2 separate regions of the Homo sapiens genome follow, and region 1 is linked to region 2. The links are contacts of gene promoters, found by promoter capture Hi-C in blood cells and fetal thymus (Javierre and others, 2016). All regions are on one chromosome and are shown on one strand. The core of a region is centred on a gene start or on the middle of the fragment in contact, and the rest is flanking DNA. Distances in the headings are between cores, read along the strand shown. Region 1 overlaps TUT4 (terminal uridylyl transferase 4). Region 2 holds the start of BTF3L4 (basic transcription factor 3 like 4).

Evidence for each region. The method cuts DNA at HindIII sites, captures the fragments that hold promoters and counts their contacts. A CHiCAGO score of 5 or more calls a contact.
Region 1: a contact is called between a fragment that was not itself captured here and the fragment with the promoter of BTF3L4 in region 2, in 1 of 17 cell types (fetal thymus). The highest score is 5.0, in fetal thymus.

What each region holds. Positions count from the first base shown.
Region 1 is chr1:52,421,415-52,425,266 of GRCh38, reverse strand. It overlaps TUT4 (terminal uridylyl transferase 4), which reads left to right. Exons shown (of 30, transcript NM_001009881.3): 30 at 1,265-1,992. The coding sequence ends at 1,332. Among named protein-coding and RNA genes, the nearest start is that of PRPF38A, 19 kb to the right of the region's middle. RefSeq lists an enhancer at 1,338-1,387. The HindIII fragment of the contact is 5,285 bases long and covers 1-3,852 here.
Region 2 is chr1:52,054,562-52,058,198 of GRCh38, reverse strand. It overlaps BTF3L4 (basic transcription factor 3 like 4), which reads right to left and starts at 1,904. Exons shown (of 6, transcript NM_152265.5): 1 at 1,820-1,904. TXNDC12 (thioredoxin domain containing 12) reads left to right here and starts at 3,008. Exons shown (of 7, transcript NM_015913.4): 1 at 3,008-3,199. The coding sequence starts at 3,103. RefSeq lists enhancers at 989-1,700, 1,701-2,414 and silencers at 1,480-1,719, 2,580-2,984. The HindIII fragment of the contact is 3,174 bases long and covers 1-2,324 here.

The sequences.
Region 1 (3,852 bases), core at 520-3,019, 370 kb before region 2:
GAGTGAAAATTCATGAATTCAGTAAACATTTACTGAGAAATTATACTGTGTGTCAGATGGTGCTAGGTGCTTGTAAAACAAAATCTCCATTACTTGATGCACACTTTATTAGGAAAGCCAGACATGTTAAATAGAAAAGGAGTTTAGATGAATCAGTTAACATTGCCCTAGCAAATCCAAACAGGATGTGGATTTAAGATTATTACATCACAAGATTTTGACAGTTGAGCTAGATCTTGAAAGAGATGCAGGAATTTTTTTTTTGCCTAGAGATGAGAGAGGAGGAGGAGTATGCTTAGCTGAGGGATTAATATATGCAGTCACTGAGTTTTGCCTGGCATAATGAAAAAGAGTAGAAAATATTAGGGCTAGAGGACGGAGGTATATGGGAAAGATGGTGATAAGGCTAGAGAGGGTAGGCTTAGACCATATTATGGAGTTTGGACTTGGTTTACTGAGCATTGGGGACCTAATTAAAGGTTTTTAGTGGAACGAAGACATAATCATATTTGTTTAGTAAACGTAGGACTTGAATGACCTTAAAATTTATTATGTTCTGCTGGTGCTATTGTAGTACTAATAATGGCTTTGACTGGGTAATGAATATTACAAACAAAGAATTCCTAGAAACTTGGAGCATTTTATCTAACCTACTTGCCTCAGAGGTATTTGTTCTTATAGGCATTGTCTGAGTCTGGCCTTCAGCTCTTTGTTAACTTAGTTCAGAACACTTGGGTCAGAGTCAGTATAGTTAAACTAGGAGTTCAAGAAGTTAAAACAGGCACTCAGGAAATGCTGATTGAATGAAATGATAACTTAAAGGGGAAGTGCCTGGTATGGTCTCAGGCTTGTTATATTTAAGCCTTCTTAAACCACCCATATACTACTGGGGCATCCCTGTATTGTAGAGTGGCAGAGCCTTGACTGTGGTTGAGCTCTTCTCTTGAGCAAAGAACTGGGGCTGAAGGAAGTTACTATTAGTCATAAGCCCTTTTAGGAGGGGAGAGTCTGCAACTCTTTTCTAGTGGGTTTTTTCCCTTTGATTCCTCCTCTCCATCTTTCGTGTCCTCTCCTTTTTTCACATACAGGTATTTCCTTCCCTTCTTCATTTTTCTCCCCACCCTCTCAAATGTTTTGCAGCATGCTTTATCACCTCCTATTATATAAATAGAAAAAAAGAAAGCTAACTACAAGTTAATTCTAAGGTGTTGTCAGATAAACAGGCACAAGCCTTTCAGTTTCCTGTCTGTGTTGTATCCAACAGACAGATGTGCCACCCGTCGGTGTAGAGAGCGTTGTCCCCACCCACCAAGAGGAAACGTGTCGGAGTAATGCGAGTCCATTTTCTTTCAGCTGGTCTACCGATGCACAGCAACCAGCCAATCCTGCTGTCTCAAGGGTATCCGTACCTCAATGTCAGTTACATTCAGCAGAAAAAGTGACATTTAATGGAAAGCAAAACAAATCAGGTCCTGATTTAAAATTTTAACACGTTTAGATAGCTTATTTAAATTCTAAGACTGTTTTTACAGACTGTATTATTTGTATATAAATATGAACTATAGTTTTTACTAGTATCACCAAATTGAGTGATACAAATTTCATCTATTTTATTACCCTATTTTTAAGGGAATTTTATGTTTTGTTTAACCTTGATGAATTGTATAAAGAGAGAATTTAAAAAATTACATTCTTTATTTTCTATTAGCTGTATTCATACTTTGGTTGCTTCAGACTTTATATATTGTTCTTAAAAGTTAGGAAAGAATTTCATGTGTTTTAAATTGTCACTTCTATTCTTTACAGAACCTTGTAGTGCCAAAAACTTTTTAAAAGGTAAAAAAATAAAATAAAATTACAACATGAAGATTCAGATTTTTTTTCTTTTCCATACTTGTATATTGAACATTCAAACTTGAATGGAAAGTTGATTTTGTCTGTATTTGAAGTACTTCTATTTTAAGTTAATAAATCTTTTTGACAAGAGTTAAATTTGGTTAATCTGTTGTATAGATGATGGAAATATTACGTAACAAGATTTCTTTTAATTTCAGTGAATAGAGCATTCTAAATCACAGATTTTAGTTTTAGAGATTCAAGTAACATTTCATATCCTTTATTTGGTTGGATGTTCACAACACCCATATGAGGTTGATAGAAGCGGAAGCCATTTCCATTTTATCTTTGAAAATAAAAACTGAAATGCAAAGCAGTCAGTAAATTCCAAAAAGCAAACAATGCTGGAGTCTGAATTGAAAAGTATTTGGAAAGAGAATTTTAAAACACTGAGACTAATATTGGCAATTAGAGTGGAGGGAAGATTACTTTTTTTTTTTTTTTTTTTTGAGATAGAGTCTGTCTGTCACCCAGGCTGCAGTGCTGTAGTATGATCTCGGCTCACTGCAACCTCTGTCTTCTGGGTTTGAGCGATTCTCCTGCCTCAGCCTCCCGAGTAGCTGGGATTACAGGCATGCACCACCACACTTGGCCAATTTTTGTATTTTTAGTAGTGGCGGGGTTTCATCATGTTGGTCAGGCTGGTCTCGAATTCCTGACCTCAGGTGATCCACCTGCCTTGGCCTCCCAAAGTGCTGGGATTACAGGCGTTGAGCCACTGCACCCAGCCCAGACTGTATTCATTTTGAGTCCTATACTTCCACCTGGAAAGCACACTTGCCAAGATGATAATTATTTACCAGTAATACTTGGAATTAATTATTATTGGGTATTGGAATTCAGACTCGAGTTGTTGGTGGCATAATGTTTTAGCTGTTTTAGCAGTGAGGTGAGGTAATTTTCTCTAACCCCTTAATTAGTCCGTCCAGTTGCCTGGGATTTTAGGCTAAATGATGCTATATATCTATTTGGAAAGGTGCAGAATAAGTAGATAAAAATGTAAGGACAGTGGGTTATCTTTGCTGCGCTTCCTCTGATATACATTACTTAAATAGGAGACTGCTTGGGCCCTTGCCATATTTTGCAACATGGAAGATATTTGAAACCTATTGCAGGAGGTTGAGGGTATTCATGCTGTATTTACAGCCCTGAGTTAAATATATTTACTATTTTTTTTACCTAACCTGAGTTAGGTATATTTACTATTTTTTCTTATTAAAGCGTCAGCATCTTTCAGAATCCTATTAAGTGGTGGACTTAAATCATTTATTAACAAGATACCTGACCCAACTATGCATTCATGTTAAAATGACTTGGAGCATTCAAGATTTAAATTAACATTCAATACTTCATGTCCTTCCACATCTTGGAGAACAGGTAATGACGTATACAGGGGTGTTTATTATTCTCTTTACTTTTGTACATACAGTAGGCCCTCCATATCCATGGGTTTTGCATCTATGGATTCAACCAACCACGGATTGCAGATATTAAAAAAAACTGTGTCTGTACTGAACTTGTACAGTTTGTTATTATTCCCTAAACAATACAGTATAACAACTTTTCCCACAGAATTTCCATTGTATGAGGCATTATATGTAATCTAGAAATGATTTAAAGTATAAAGGAGGATGTGCATAGGTTATATGCAAAGACTACACTATTTTATATCAGGGACCTGAGCATCCTTGGATTTTGGTATATCTGCGGGAGGTCCTGGAACCAACCCCCCACCAGATACCAAGGGGAGGATTGTATTTGAAATATTCATTAAAAATAAAACAACTTCCAATAACAGAATGCCCCAACCCCTCAGCCTTTCTTCCTTAAGGAAGGCAGTATAAAATACCACTTGGCAAAACCTATTAACTGGCAACCTAGTAACCAACAGCCTAGGTTTTACTTATATGATAGTGTTATAGATACTAGTTTTCAGCATCTCATTTGCCCCTCCTT
Region 2 (3,637 bases), core at 655-3,154:
TGTGCCAATCTTAGCTCTGCCATAGACTTAAATTTGATGACTTAAATCCCAATTCCTATGCTCAAATATCCACAGAAAAGGACCAACATTCACTTTTCTCAAAGGAATGTGGCCATGAGAGTGTAGTGAACTAACAAAGAGCCAAAGGAATTTATTGCAAAAAAAAAGGGGCTAAGGAAAAACATTAGACCTAGATACTTGGTAAACCCTTTGGGATTCTTCTGCATTTTGAAGTAACAATTCCCAAGAGAACAGACAGAGGTTGGGATGCCAAGACAAAGTCTTGACTTGTTTGAAATAAAAGCAAGAACAAAATTAACTCTTCAAATCAAGGTATAGATGAAAGAACAGATTCCATTCCAGGTGGTCAGGACAACAGAATTGAGAAATTTTGTTCCTAAGGAGTATCTCAGAGAAAAATGATTTTAGGGAGACTGAGAGCTCAAGGCAGTAGGGGAGGAACAAGAGTAGTCTTTTGTTTCTTGGCAAGTTGTGGTGTGTGGAATTCAAGTAGGAAAGAGGACTGGACTCAGTCTATGCGATGTCAAGCTCAGAATCTGGAGTAGACCTCCAAGATCACCTGGTTTAATTCTCTATTCTCAATCAACCTCTACTTTATTGCACCCATCATTCCTATCTGTGATGTCATCTCAACATCTGCTAGCACCAGCAAAGTATAAATTACAAACGAAACAGTTCCCTCCCTCCCATCTTAATAGATTAGGAAATAAGGGCCCAGAAGGGAGAAGTCCCTTCCTAGGCCCAAAAGGGAGAAGTAACTTCCTAAAGCCACATGATTAATGAGTTCTTCCTTGGGGATTCCAGGATCTTTTAGCACTGTTCTCAAGGACTCAAGAAAGGGTGTAAACAGGTTTATATTTATTAAGTGCCTAAGTTAGAAGCATTGTGGTAGGCACTTTCACATACATCATGTTTACACAGAGATAAAAATAATTGCAACCTTGAGTCCTGACTTTTTATTATGTAGGGTTTCTCTAAGACAAGCACAGGCTTTGGAATCAGAAAGACCAAGGTTCTACCAGTTGGGAAAGGTATTTTTCTTCTCTGAACTTGTATTCCTCCTGCATTTGGAAAGGTATAACACCACGTACTTCACAGGGTTGTTTTGAGGGTTAAAACATTATCAACCACAGGGAATGGTTCACAGAAGATACACAGTTACTGGTAACTATTGTTACCACTCCCGAGGGGACAACTATGGTAAACTGCAAGAATGTGGGAACGGAAGTTGAAACCGCCATTCACTAGCTGTGCAACACTGAGCCTGTCGGTCAGCAGGCAGTGGGAGGGGGGTTATAAAGATGGGCAAGGGACGCCGACTTGTAAACAAACACTGCCATTACAAGGTGAAGAGTGCTGTAACTGAGTTCGGTTCCCTGGACTCAAGGGCGGGAAGTGGTAACCTCAGCTTCCCTATCTGTAGACTGGGAGCATCAAATGAGATGACAACAGAGAGCCTGTATAAAGCTCAAAGCACACAACACTGCTGTTGTGAGCAAGGAGTAATGGAACAGAGGAGGGGCGTCCACCTGCCTCCTGGGACAGGGTCTGGGCGGCAACAGGGCGGGCCCGCTCGCTCCCACAGGGGGCGGTGGTGCTGGGGACCTTCCCACAGGTGCCGACCCCCAGCTGCGCCGCCGGTAACCGACAGGCCAAGCCAGCCGCCTCCGCCCCCGCTCGCCGCACCACGGCGGAAGTGGCAGCCTGAGCGGTTGGCGGGTGTCGGAAGGGGAGGGCGGGGGGAGACCGTGCGCAGCGGCCTATGGCCGTGAAGTGGCGGGACCGCCGGGGGTCTCACCTGAAGCAGGGAGGGTCCTCCAACACCAGCACGCGGCAAGAGAAAGATGGCTGCCTCAGCCGAGACAGAGAAAGACGACGGCGGCGGCGGCGGCGGCGGGAGCAGATCCACGTGATACAGCCGACCCCGCCTCTCCCTCTCCGGGGCAGCCTATCCCGGGAGCGAACATCTGAACTCCAACGCCCCGCCTGCTTTGCGCATCCCTCTTAGTGCTAGTGGCGGCAGGTGCAGGTGGCCGCGCGGCATCCTGGGGCTTGCAGTCTCCCGAGCGTTCTGTTGTGTCCCTGCCTACAATTTTAGGGAACCTAATAAAAGGGTGGTCGGTATGTTTTTATTTGGGTGTGTACTTTTGTTAGGTCGCTTTTTCGCTATGCATTAAGTACGGACTTTAGGACTCAACTAGTACCAGGAAGAAAAAGACCGGACATTTTCACCTGTTTGTTATACAGCGAAGGGGAAAAATTGGGAAGAAATCCTCAAGCTACAAGAAAAATAACCAGAAGCTTTACACTTTAGCCTGCAGTGACTTATATCCTGGTGTCCTAAGTCCACCTAAGTCAGTTTTGCAATAAGAGGTCCCAAGTTTGGTTTTCTTGGAGCTTGCATCAGTTGGTTGCATCATCCCTGAGTAGAAGATTTGCGGTTGCAAGGAAAAATAAGGTACAGAGCTTCTCCAGCGGGAAAGTGCATGTCTGCACGGCACGAGCCCACGCACCGCAGAACAGGCTTGCCAGGTCTCCTCAGAGACCCTCGCAGGAACCTAACAATGAAATCCAGTTGTCCAGTCTTGATTTGTGGAGGGGTAAGGAGAATCCGAGGCCAGTGGGCAATCCGCCCACTGTTGGGAGCGACTGACCTCACGAATCAATAATTTGCTTTTGACTAGGAAGTGCAGCGGTTCTTGGGGGGAGGGGCTGGACTGGGTGGCGGACGCGAGGAGCAACGGTTCTCCCGAACCTCTCCCCCGCCCCTACTATCTTGGCCTACATTTTCCCGCTCCGTCCCGGGACCTGGACACCCAGAATCCACGAAAAGCAACTCGCGCTCGAGAACAGCTCTCGTACCCTTCTACGTGATCTGCACCTTTAAGCTCACTCCATCCCAAACCGGACCCCGGAGGCACCACCCACATCCGTCTAACATCACTTCCTTCAGAGTTTGAAAAAAAAAAATCTGGGAAGTAGAGGTGTTGTGCTGAGCGGCGCTCGGCGAACTGTGTGGACCGTCTGCTGGGACTCCGGCCCTGCGTCCGCTCAGCCCCGTGGCCCCGCGCACCTACTGCCATGGAGACGCGGCCTCGTCTCGGGGCCACCTGTTTGCTGGGCTTCAGTTTCCTGCTCCTCGTCATCTCTTCTGATGGACATAATGGGCTTGGAAAGGGTCAGACCGCGTTCTTATCTTCTCTTTACTGATCTTTACTATACTGATCCCAGTATAATCTCTTCTTGCCCTAGCACCGTTCCCCTCCCATTCTAACTCTTAGGCCACTCCAGATTTCTTTTTATCTTCCCCAACCGCTCCTGGAGTTTGAAGATTTCTTGGGGTAGAGAGTAGCGGGTCTGGGGAATGGAGAAGTTGTACTTGAGGCCTCTCTAAATTATTGGATTGGGGGGAAGGAATGGCCCGTAAATTAAGGAAAGCATGTTAAGAGCCCAGCATAGTGCCTAGCACTTGGGAGGTCCTGAGGAACGGTCACCTTCCCACCTGGGAGAAATAGAGCCGTTGGGGACCTGCATATGCAGAGGACCCTGTTCTGGGTCTGAAGATTTCTCTCGTTACTTCTTCCGCGAAGAGCTAGGTTACTGCCACTTGCTTGCC